Linked DNA regions of Homo sapiens: regions 1 and 3 are each linked to region 2. Evidence: promoter capture Hi-C in 16 types of primary human blood cells and fetal thymus (Javierre and others, 2016). All regions are on one chromosome and are shown on one strand. Each heading gives the region's core, a stretch centred on a gene start or on the middle of the fragment in contact. The rest is flanking DNA. Distances are from core to core; before and after follow the strand shown. Region 1 holds the start of HOOK1 (hook microtubule tethering protein 1). Region 2 holds the start of FGGY (FGGY carbohydrate kinase domain containing). Region 3 has its middle 5.9 kb from the start of OMA1.

What was found. The method cuts DNA at HindIII sites, captures the fragments that hold promoters and counts their contacts. A CHiCAGO score of 5 or more calls a contact.
Region 1: the fragment with the promoter of HOOK1 here is called in contact with the fragment with the promoter of FGGY in region 2 in 3 of 17 cell types (non-activated CD4 T cells, naive CD8 T cells and naive CD4 T cells); the score reaches 6.8 in non-activated CD4 T cells.
Region 3: a contact is called between a fragment that was not itself captured here and the fragment with the promoter of FGGY in region 2, in 1 of 17 cell types (non-activated CD4 T cells). The highest score is 5.2, in non-activated CD4 T cells.

Annotation. Positions count from the first base shown.
Region 1 is chr1:59,812,118-59,816,419 of GRCh38, reverse strand. It overlaps HOOK1 (hook microtubule tethering protein 1), which reads right to left and starts at 1,471. Exons shown (of 22, transcript NM_015888.6): 1 at 1,240-1,471. The coding sequence starts at 1,302. LOC105378758 (a long non-coding RNA gene) reads left to right here and starts at 1,554. Exons shown (of 5, transcript XR_947426.3): 1 at 1,554-1,658. RefSeq lists an enhancer at 604-1,167 and a silencer at 1,404-2,003. The HindIII fragment of the contact is 6,303 bases long and covers 1-4,302 here.
Region 2 is chr1:59,295,106-59,299,140 of GRCh38, reverse strand. FGGY (FGGY carbohydrate kinase domain containing) reads right to left here and starts at 2,047. Exons shown (of 16, transcript NM_018291.5): 1 at 1,991-2,047. It overlaps FGGY-DT (FGGY divergent transcript), which reads left to right and starts at 2,591. Exons shown (of 2, transcript XR_001738089.2): 1 at 2,591-2,772; 2 at 3,377-4,035. RefSeq lists an enhancer at 1-588 and silencers at 2,006-2,095, 2,106-2,645. The HindIII fragment of the contact is 6,368 bases long and covers 160-4,035 here.
Region 3 is chr1:58,550,655-58,554,568 of GRCh38, reverse strand. No RefSeq gene overlaps it. Among named protein-coding and RNA genes, the nearest start is that of OMA1, 5.9 kb to the right of the region's middle. The HindIII fragment of the contact is 2,117 bases long and covers 743-2,859 here.

The DNA.
Region 1 (4,302 bases), core at 222-2,721, 520 kb before region 2:
TGTTTCTACGACAGTCTTAAATACAGCACTTCCACCCCAATACCTATTTCAAATGAAAATTCAGCTGAACAGTTAGCTAATTGCTTTTAACTCACAAACCCTAAATATTTGCATTCCACTAAAAGCAAAAGTTATTTACTTACAAAGTGTAAATGCTTTAAATTATGGCTATTTCCAATAGGCTTCACACATTTCCATAAACCTAGATTTCTCATTCTTTGGAATTAGATGCATTAGATCACTAGGGAATCTCAACCGATTACAGCCTCCTGATCCCGTCTGTTTACATTCCATCTGCACACACTCCCCTAGACGCAACTAAACAACTGGTTTGGGATGAGCATCATCAACAGCACCTTGTGGCTCATCAAACACCATCTTTACTCAATATGGGTTAAGAACCACACCTGAATGCCAGCACTGATATCTAAGTAACTCTAAGAGGTGGGATGTCATTTTGCTGACTGGAATATTGAACAATCTGGGGACAGATATGCCTGTCCAGACCCAACACAAATTAACAAAAATCCTAAACACAGATAAATCCTAAAGAAAAATGTCAACTCATTTTCTTTAAAGAAAATGCTGTCCATTTAGAGGAGGAGAGGGCCAGCGAGAAAAAGGGAAAACGACCCCCGACTCCCAACACATCTTTTTCTCCATACGGGAAATACAAACATCTCTTTGAAGCGGCTTCTACAAAATCGGATGTTCTAGAGTCCTGAAGGAGCATTGGTCCGGGAACTAAAACAGCCAGCCACCTCCTGGCCACCTGTGTCCAGGTAGAGCAAGGTAGTTTGAGGATGCAGGGTTAGGTTTCGGAAAGGGTCTTCACGCCCAAGCGGACCAAGGCAAGAGAGTCGGCGATCCAGAAAGTGGAGGGCTCGGGCGCTGTTCAGGGGGAGAAAATGGGGCAGCGGGGAGAAAAGAGGATGGGTGCTTGGTTCATATCCCAGCTGTTAGGGCACCAGGCAGGTCGAATCCTCTGGTTGAGACCAGAGCCTCCACTGTTACGCTCCCAGAGCTTCCTTTACCCCCACCCCCGGACACCAACCCGCGCCCACACACCTGCCCGTCGACCCGCAGGTGGCATTCTCTCGGTCAAGGGCACGAGGTGAGAAGGGCAGGGTGCGCCGGGACCCTGTGCAGGTAGCCCCAGCTCACCTGGGAGAACCGGGCGCCCCAGGCTCCTCGCCTCGGCCCCCTGGCCCCCTCGCCCTCTCGCCTCCTCGCACTCACCCAGATCATGAGGCTGTCGCACAGGGGCAGCTTAGGCTGCGGCGGCGGCTGCGTCTCCTCCATGGCCGGCGCCGCCGTCGACGACGCCGCGGACACCTTCACACTCCCTCCTACCGGCTCTCCTCCAGGAGCCGGCGTCCACGACCTGCTAGCCCCCAGGAAAGCTCGGTACCAGGCCCGACCCGCGCAGCTCACGCGCGAACCCTCGCGCTGTCGACGCGTCCGGCGTCACCCCCTCCTCACCCGCCCCCGCCTCGCTCCAGCGTTCGCCCCCTCCCCTTCCTGGGCCCCGGCCGCGCTGCCAGGCACCTGAGCCCCGCCTTCTCCCACCCCTCCCCTCCTCCCACCCGTCCTGCCCACTCCCGCACACCTCGCCCCGCCGCCCTGAGTGACCTGGCCGCGCACCAGTCACAGAGACGGTAGGTACCCGGGGGGGCGGGCGGGGCGGGGCGGGGGCGGGAAGAACCGGGATAGGTTGCGCAGGGGGGATTGCTGATTGGACGTGCCCTCGTGGGCTCTGGCCAATCAACGTGAGACAAGCCTGAGCCTTGGGTAGAGAGTGAGAGTGGGTGGGAAGAGGTTTATGACCTGGCAGGTGCAGTGAGGGCGGGGGTGGGAGGTTGCGCGCGGGAAGCGAGCGCGCGTGCGCGGCGGGGATTGGTAAGGCTGAAGCTCAGCCCCAGTGGCCGAAGAGGCAGAGGGGCAGCAGGGCACCGGCTGGGCTCAGGCGTCTTCCCTCCTTCTTCGCGGTAGCACGCCGCCTCGCTACACCTGTGGAGGGCCCACACTCTGCTTCCACATTGTCTTCAGAAATAGATCCTACCGGCTGGGCGAGGTGGCTCACGCCTGTAATCCTAGCACTTTGGGAGGCTGAGGCGGGTGGATCACCTGAGGTCAGGAGTTCGAGACCCGCCAGGCCAAGATGGCGAAACCCATTCTCTACTAAAAATACAAAGATTAGCCGGGGGTGGTGGCACATGACTGTAATCCCAGCTACTCAGGAGGCTGAGGCAGAAGAATCGCTTGAACCCGGGAGGCACAGGTTGCAGTGAGCCGAGATCATGCCACTGCACCCCAGCCTGGACAAAAAACCGAGACTCTGTCTCTAAAAAATATATAAAACAAAATAAAGAAAGAAAGAAATAGATCATACCCATGAATTAAAACTCTTCGAGGAAGGAAGAGCTGATTTCCTCCTAGGCACTCATTGGAAAGGGATGTTTTCATTTGCACACGTGGCAAATATGCCACATTAATAAGGAAAATAGAATCCGTCAGTGCTCCTTAAATAAGCTCTCACGGGACCATAGATCATGAGCAATTTTATTTTACATGGGGCAAAAGGGAAGACCGTTTTCAAGTAGCAAAATAAACGAAATGTTTTGAAAAACATGGAAGATATTAATGTATCCATTTTCCTTTGTCAGTTGAAAATTTGCTTTTTCCGAGAATGTTGTGGGGTGGAGGGGGGTCGGGGGAGGTGACCTGAAATTGGAAGCTCTCCAAGGTATTGATAGATGGCTTAGGTGATTGAAAAGGGCTAGACTATTCTTAGTCTTGCTGTCACTTCACTCATTCATAAACTCATCAATTCATGCTCTGAGTAAGAAAACAGCTGGCTTTTTTTTATATTGCTGCGTTTTTATATTTAGACACTGAAAATTTAAAACTGATGGACGACTGCAATTAAAAGCCCCCAAGTGTAAATCAGTCTCATTCTAAAAATACAGTATGTACGTTTGCTATTGACTCCCTTAACATTATTCCAGAACTTTCTTAACGCCTCTGGAGTCACTTTATATGCTGGAACTAGGTACATTGGTAATGTGATTTAATTAAAACTACAAGATTTAGGAATTGAAGACCTGGTCTGAATCTTGACTTTATTCCCCACTGGCTGCTCTCCTATAGCCCCCAACCTCCACATTCCTAAGATCATTGTAATTAAAATGTAAACATACATGGTAAATGTAAATTATAAACTTTGTAAATATGAGTTACTATTATCATCTATACATATGGGAAACTTCTCAACATATTTATCACTGAGAGCCACAAGTGACCAAATTTCTCAAATAAAATAATTCGTGAGAGTAACTTGGTGGGGGGGGCAATTAAGTTATGCTTCTGGACTTTATAGAGAGTAAATTATCAGGGAAGGAAAAATTTAACAATTTTTATCAAGAAACTTTAAAATATCCATATCATTTAAACCCATGATTCCAATTTATTCTGCGTCAGTCATAAATTCTGTTGAAATCATCAGAAGTGCATTTGGAGGCTTTGAACAATGATATGTATGGCAATGCTATGTATTGATCAATTGTATAATCGATTGATACAATGCCCAATAAGCAAGGAAGGCTAAATATTTTACAGCAGATTCAGTGCTCTGGAGAATATTTGATAACTCAGGAAAGTTGTCACAATGTATACTATTAAATAAAATTTAGATGAAAGTATCAGCCATATGACCTCAATATTATAAATATTAGGTATGTATTTTAATATATACACAGGAAGAAGACAAAGGAATAATCATAAAACTGTTGTTATATTTATATACAAATGAAAAATGACTATTTTTCTAATCTTCCATATTTTCTAGGCTTTCTACAATTAGCTTATATTACTTTATAATCAGAAAAAAAGACTTTAGAAGAAATGCCAAATACAACATAAGTTATCATTTCCAACTATTAAATTGGCATCAGTTCTTTAGAAGTTGGCATCCATGTTTGGGGAGTTGAGTGAAACTAACTCTTAAACCCTAGCTGTGGGATTATAAATGGGTACAAAGTTTTTTGACAATATATATCAAGAGCCTTTAAAATGTTCAAAGTCTTTAAGCCAGTAAGTTCACTTTCAGAATCTATTCTAAGAAAATAATCATATGCCAACAAAGTTGTTGATTGCAGTACTATTTATCAAGCAAAAAGGAAAAGAAACAGCTATTAAATGTCTGAAAGAGAAGTGATTAAACACAGTAAGTTATATTTAAACAATGAAATGTATCATAGGCATTAAAATATTTTAAAATAAGTTTATTCAGGAAAATGCTTA
Region 2 (4,035 bases), core at 798-3,297:
TTCCCTTCTGGGAAGTCCTCCCCAAATGGCTTCCCCATGTTGAGCCATTTGCCCTTCTCTCAACTCCTGGGAGTCTTCGGCATACCTTTTCAATGTACTCATCTCACTATCACATAATCTCCCTCATCAAAGTGGATTGAAGCAAACTGGATGAAAGCTTGAAAGCAGAGACCAAGTCTTACTCATCTGCACTTTCCCAGAGACTACCACAGTTCTGGGCCCAAAGTATGTGGACAAGATGAGTGAACAAATGAATACATGAAGAACTGATTTGGATGATCTCTGACACCACCTGGGTTGATTCTATGTCCCTCCATTATAAAAAGGTGGGCGGGTGAGAAGGTAAGTGATCTCTGTAGCACGTTCTGGTAAAATAATCATTTCAAATCCCCCTGGGGGTGGAGGTAGGGGGTTCCACTCTGGCTAGGAGATTAAGGGCAAGATTCATTACCTCAAATTATTTTAAAAACCAGCTGGTAATTGACTGTGATTTAAACTATTTAAATCAATAAGTGAAAGGTTAGGTAAAGGGAACTATTTAAACTAATAAGTGAAAGGTTAGGGAAAGGGAACCAAATTCCAGGAAAAGCCAAGGCCCACAACAAAAACTAACACAGCCTGGAAGGCCCAGCCTCCTCCCAGTAAACTTATTAATTTTATCCAGAAAGACATGGCTCTCCACCCTCTGGGGTTATGCCCTTCTCCCAGCACACATGTTTTGACTTCCAAATCCAGCCAGGCAGGCTCCCAACCTCCCTCCCCCTCAAAATTGATCTCCAGGCCCAGCTGACCCCCTCTGATCTGTTCCCCCAATCATCCTTAATAACAGTGCTCTGGGCCTCCCACTAGGAGGTCCTCCAAGAGCCAGGCCAGTGGCCATCAGGTCAAGAGCCAAGCATGAGGGCCCCATTAACAGGAGACTCCCAGAAGACCAAGCGGCAGTCATCTGGCTGGAAAATCCAGCAAGCAAGTTAAAAAGGAAAAAAATCAGGACATACACGTGGTGGATCATAGAAAAAAAAGAGGAAAAGCAAGCAAAAACTATACAAAGCAAAACTCTACCATTTAAATAACAGCCACAAAATAAAAGACTTTCCCTTCTTTCATTCTGATTTACAAGTCAAAAGAATAAGCACCTCACCCCTCCTGGTCTCATACTTTAAAATTTAACCTAAGGATTAACTGCTTTTCAGACTTTGGTCATGTCATGACTGACTCTTCGGGGAAGAAATTTGTGTTAAGACACAGAAGTGCTTTAGTGGAAAACAGCCCATGATGAGGGAAATTCACCATTTTGCACCTTGTCAATTTTTTTTTTTTTTTTCTGAGACGCTCTGTCCCCCAGGCTGGAGTGCAGTGGCACGATCTCAGCTCACTGCAAGCTCCGCCTCCTGGGTTCACGCTATTCTCCTGCCTCAGCCTCCCGAGAAGCTGGGACTGCAGGCGCCCGCCACCACGCCCGGCTAATTTTTTGTATTTTTAGTAGAGACGGGGGTTTCACCGTGTTAGCCTGGATGGTCTCGATCTCCTGACCTCGTGATCCACCCGCCTTGGCCTCCCAAAGTGCTGGGATTACAGGCGTGAGCCACCGCGCCCGGCCCCTTGTCAATCTTTAAATAAAAAGGAAACGGCTAAAAATGAAAAGATATCCCTAGGCCTTTCTACTCAGGATAACTGTAACCAAACAGCATTATCTCATCTAAACTCAGCTGTGCCTCAAACATTATCACAAGTGCTGGAAGCGTTTAAATCTACAAGCAACACTAGCCTAAAAATGCCTTCGGTAGCCAGACGTGAATTAAAGGCTCCTCAAATGCCAGGAAAATGTCCTACAAGGGTAAGGGGAGGAGAGAAAGAGTACTGAATACAGATAAGTGGGCACTGATCGGAGAGGAAGCAGCACGGGTTCCAGACACCTAATAGGCAGCCTTGGGGATGCAGTCAAGGCCGACCCTTCCCTTCCCTTCCCTTAAGTGGCCGGACGCCTCACCCAGAAGAGGACACAGGGGACTCAACAACGTCTCGGGAACAACGGCCCGGCGGGTGTGAGACTAAGCGGCCAGGAGGAGGAAGGGGAGGAGGAGGCAGGGGAGGAGGAGGCAACGACTGCGGGAAAGGGGAAGGAAGGGCCGGGCCGGGTTGGAGAAGCCTCTTTCTGGGCGTGCGCGCTAAGAGCCTGCGCACCAGCAAAAGCCCCCAGCGCCCACGTGGGACTGAGAGGAGGGTCACTTACAGTACTTGTCCAATCTGAAATTACATTTTAGCTAGACGGATTCTGCACGTAGCCGCGCCGAACCCCACGGCGCCTGAGCAGGGCGGTCCCGGGGCGGCTACAGCCCCGCCTTGCGCGCGATCCCGCCCCCGCCGGCGCGGCCCCTGTAAAGCGCGGCCCCTGTAAAGCGCGGCCCCTGTAAAGCGCGGCCCCTGTAAAGCGCGGCCCCTGTAAAGCGCGGCCCCTGTAAAGCGCGGCCCCTGTAAAGCGCGGCCCCTGTAAAGCGCGGCCTGATTGGCCCTTTGAACCGGGCGTGGGATTGGCCGTCGCCTGCCCACCCCGCGGCTGCAGCGTTCCCTGGGGCCTAGCCAACCGCGGGCAGGGCTGGGCAAGGCGGGAGGAGCGCGGACCCAAGATCGGCTACGCTGCGTCTGCTCAGGCTGCGAGTTCCCGGCTCTGGGGACTCACCTTGCGGAGCTTACCCAGGCGGACTCTCCGCAGCCCCTGATGGGTGTGTGTGTCAGACCGTTTACTAAACACCAGGACTGTTGTAGGCGACTGTAAGAAATAAGAATATTGCATGGTTACAATTCTTGAATGCTTACCTTGTGTCTTGTTCCTTACTCTACAGAAATTTTCTAATCCCGTGGCGAACCCCCGTACTTCAACGTATGACATTCTGTAAATCTACAAAACAGATGGGTCCCTGCCTTTGAGAAGTTTTTACAATTTAGTGGGTACTGGACACGGACCTAATTTAATTCTCACATGCCTTCCCTTTCTAATAAGCTGCATGTTATGTATCCCTATTCTACAGATGTGGGGAATCCGAAATTTTTAGCTTTTACTGGGACACACAGCTAGCAAGCAACTAAAGCGAGAATTCCAACCTGAGCTCCAATCCGAACTATTTTCATAAAAGGCAGGATCCCAGGCTGAGGGAGTTCGAGGTTTGGGAGACAGTTTAGCAGTCGCTGAGTCCAAACATGTTGTTTTCCTAGAAAAGAAAACTGAGATCCAGGAAAGGGAAGTGATTTTCCAAAGACACACCTGTGAAAGGTAATAATTTCACTGAACGGATCTTAAGTGGCAGGTGCACTAAGATTGTCTGCTATCTTCACAACAACCCCGAAGTAAATAAGTGCTCTTATCTTGGTCTTACAGGTGAGGAGAACAGCCCAGTGAGGCTGAGGCCACACAATTAACCCCAGTCTTTGCACTACAACTCTACCAGGGATCCTGGTTTGGCTCATTTTCTTTCTTCTGCACCATGATTGTTCACCTTTTCATTACCAGCAACATACCCAAAGACCTAGCTATAGACTCGTTGGAATCTGTTACTTAGCAGCTGTGTGAATCAAGTGTTCAATAGGAATAATAAGATGTATTCATCTTACCTTTTCAGAACATTATGAAGAACAAATGTGGTAAGACATATGAAAATGCTTTGTAAAGTGTTAGATGCTTAATACACAGAAGACATTGCTTCCAGATCTGTTTCAACGTACCCCAAGAATGGAATAAGTGGAATATGCTGGTTTCATGCACTGTGGCAAGGGGGTCTCATCTTGGCTAGACTTGAATAAGTGGATTTGTTGCCTGGCCTCTGTGGATGGCTCTTTCTCTGGGCTTTTGTGTATTTGATTTTTTATTTGCTCCAGCAGCCGTGTTGAACCATGAAAGGACCTCAGGAATGAAACCCACACACAGCAAAGCAACAAAGTGAAAGAAGCGTGGATTCCTAATGCAGGAGGCACTGAACCAATCAATACCCACTGCCCTCCAGACCTCCACATGAAAGAAAAAAACTGCTGTCCTGTGTA
Region 3 (3,914 bases), core at 552-3,051, 740 kb after region 2:
AATGTATATTACAAAGTTACAATAAATAGAAAGAATCATGCACTAACTCCAGAACAGTCAGACCAAGGAAAAAAAGGGAAACTGCAGAAACATATGTAGATATTTACAGGAATTTAGCATATCGTAACAGTGATGCTTTAAGTCAGTCAGGACATGTTAAATTAATTGTTGGGACAGCAGTTACTTTGGTGGTCCTAACCATGGGGAGGGCACATGCATGCATCCTTTGTAAAAGCTCCACTGGCCTAATTATTCCGAAAATATTTTAGGTTATTTTTTTTCCTCCTATTTTATGCTGAAATAAATTCCTGGTAGATTAAATATTTTAAAAGATTTAAGAAAGAACAAAGTCATTCAAGTACTAGAATAATGATAAATATTTAATCTTAATTTTGAGACAGACAGTAGATATGATCTCGAAGGCAGAAACCATAATGAAAAGATGGATATTTTTGACTGTATCAAAATTTCAGCAATTAAGTGTATTTTTCACCTGAATCAACAAAGTTGAAAGACAAACTTCAAGTGGGGAAAATGTTTGCTACATAAATGACAGACAATTCTTAAATGTATAAAAAAATGTTTTAAGTTTATAAGATACAAATGAATATATTACAGAAAAATGGGTTAAGGGCATGAACAGGCAATTTGCTAAAGAAGAAATCCAAACAGCATAAAAGCATGAAAAAGCATTTACATTATTATAAATCAAAGGAATACACATCAAAACAACGAGGAAGCTTTGATCTCATCAATGTTTTAAATATTTAAGGTAATTTAAATCTTGCTTTTCAAGTGGGTTACGCATCAAAATGTTAACAGTGGTTATTTTGGGATAGTGAGGTTAAGGGTGATTTTTCTCTTTTTTGTTTTGCTTTTCTATGGTATTAGTATTTCACTTGTGCAATAAAGAAATAATAGTTTGCACTGACACTTAGAAAAGTGCTCATCTGGCATCTTTGAAGAACTGATCTCTGGGGAGTGAGCAAGGGCATGTCCACAGTAAGACCTTCCCCCATGGCCCTGCATGGAGCTCGCTGAGCCATACTGAATTATCCCACACCCAATTTCAGGAGCTGGGTCCTGGTGGCTGCAGTATAGACAAGAGGAACGAGGCTGGAGACAGGGAGACCAGTCAGGATACTAGTGCACTAATAATTTAGATGGCAATTCGTAAAAATAACACACTGGAACTTGGTGTGACCATTCTCTTCAAGCAAAAAATTAACTTTAAAATGGCAGATTTATTCATGTTATGTGGGAAGAAGGGCTAGGATGACACAAGAAAGAAAAAGAAGTCAACTGTGGTTGAAGTAAGCACTGAGCTGATTTTTGTTGGAGTAGAACGTTTCAATGAAGATGCTGAAATTCTCTGTGTTGGAGTGATTTCAAATTCACAATTTCAACCCTTTTGGACAGTCATGCCTGGCACATATTCAAGAAAAACGAAAGGCCACTTCAGTCAAGGTGCCACCCATACATTGCAGCCTTCCAAGTACGTGACCCTCATCAAATCCTGTGGCTGTTTCACCTGGTTCTCATTCTGAATCTATATCATCAGAGGCCTGATTGTTGTCTGTTGAACTTCTGTCTAAACCTGTTATAAGACAAGCCATGCCTCATAATTCTTCAGAGTCACTCTCTTCTTTAACTCAGTATTCAGCATCCAGCACTTTCTATAGGAGGTGTGAATGAATGTCTTTCTGTGTCATGGCATTTAATATAGTTTTCCACTGGAGAAGACTGAATTGTTTTAGGCTGGGTTCCCTGGAAACAGATTCTGAGATAAATCTTTTTGTGCAGGCTTATAGGGGAGAGACCTCAGGAACAACACTTATTTATTTATTTATTTAGGACGGAGTCTTGCTCTGTCACCCAGGCTGGAGTGCAGTGGTGTGATCTCGGCTCACTGCAACCTCTGCCTCTCAGCTTCAAGCAATTCTTCTGCTTCAGCCTCCCGAGTAGCTGGGACTATAGGCACGAGCCGCCATGCCTATCTAATCTCTGTGTGTGTGTGTGTGTGTGTGTGTGTGTGTGTGTGTGTGTGTGTATGTGTGTATTTTTAGTAGAGACAGGGGCTTCACCATGTTGGCCAGGCTGATCTCAAACTCCTGACCTCAAGTGATCTGCCCACCTCAGCGTCCCAACTTGCTGGGATTACAGGCGTGAGCCACTGTGCCCGGCCAAGGAACAACAATTCTTCTGCTTCAGCCTCCCGAGTAGCTGGGACTATAGGCACGAGCCGCCATGCCTATCTAATCTCTGTGTGTGTGTGTGTGTGTGTGTGTGTTTGTGTGTGTGTGTGTATGTGTGTATTTTTAGTAGAGACAGGGGCTTCACCATGTTGGCCAGGCTGATCTCAAACTCCTGACCTCAAGTGATCTGCCCACCTCAGCGTCCCAAGTTGCTGGGATTACAGGCGTGAGCCACTGTGCCTGGCCAAGGAACAACACTTATAAGGGAGTAAGGGAAACAGGACTGGGTAGAGGCAGAAGTGGAGCTTCCAGTCCCATGGAGGTCTCTGCCGCGTGGATGGCCTTGCAGTGTTATCCTCAATTGATGCATAGGAGTCAGGACTGTGTACTCCCAAAGTTTGTGGGGTAAGTGTTGTCGCTGGGCAGAGAGCCTATCCTTGGATGAAGCCGGTGTCTCCAGCCAAGGGAAATCTCTAGGGAGGCAGGCAGCTGCCAGAATGATAACTTCAGTGAATGGGGATCTGCTGGTGTAGCACAGCATCTACTTTCAGTGTTACATCCAAAGTCAAACTTCAGTGATGCTGTCACGGGACACAGTCTTCAGTGTGACCCTTCAAGCAAACCTCCTACCATGAATACTCTGTAAAGAACACCTTCAAAAGCTTCTTACACCTCATTAAGCTGTGCTTAAAATGAAGCCCTTTTCCCAAGGGCATATCCAAAGGAAATTATTCATGTCAATCCTCTGAATTCAGACGGGGTAAATAGCTTTGGAAATTTGACAAAAGCCAAACTTTTAAGTGTAGCAAATCAATATTGCTTGGTTGGAAGGTTGGTTCTGAGAATGGAATCTGATCATGTGTCTCAGTCAGTTCAGGTTGCTACAACAAAGTACTGTAGACTGACTGGCTTCAGCAACAAACTATTTTTTCTTACAGTTTGGGAAGCTGAAAGTCTGAAATGAAGATGCCAGCATGGTTGGATTTTGTGAGGACCCTCTTCCTCGTGTACGAACAGCTGTCTTGTTTTATCCTCACGTGGCAGAGTGGGAGCTCTCTGATCCCTTTATCTCCTTACAGACTTGAATCTCATTCATGAGAGCTCCACCCCCATGACCTAATTACCTCCTAAAGGCCCCCATTTCCAAATACTGTTAATATTGGGAATTTAGGGGTCAACATATGAATTTCAGAGGGATACAAACATTCAGTCCATAGCACGTTGATTAAAAAATTGCTTAAAGGGCAGCACAAAGAAGATGTACAGCCAGAACAGAGGACTTATTCAAACTCTAAATCCTCCAGCAGCCGTGACCGGGAAAATGTGCCGCTCAGATCTGCTCTGGGGAGCATAGTTGACTGCCAGGCCCTGCCCCTGACCTTCTGGCTCCCCAACTCCATTTGTAACAAGCGCATGCTCCCCATAGACTGCTCTTAGCCAATGATCATGCATGGTGTGAACACTAGTGGATGCCCATCTCTGCAAAATATGGAACTCCTCTAAGCAGGCAATTTTGGCCTAAGGACTCCTCATTTTCAAAACCTTCTTAGAACTGTGCTACTACCTGAGGTGCTTCTAATCCAGTCTTTCTTCTTTCCCTCTCTCCTTTAACCAGTGTCATGATCTGAGGGCCCTTCCTGTCTATTCCTGCTCCTGCTCCATTATCCTTCCCAGGATTTTCCACGCAGTAAATATGTCTTGCACATCTGATTCCACCCT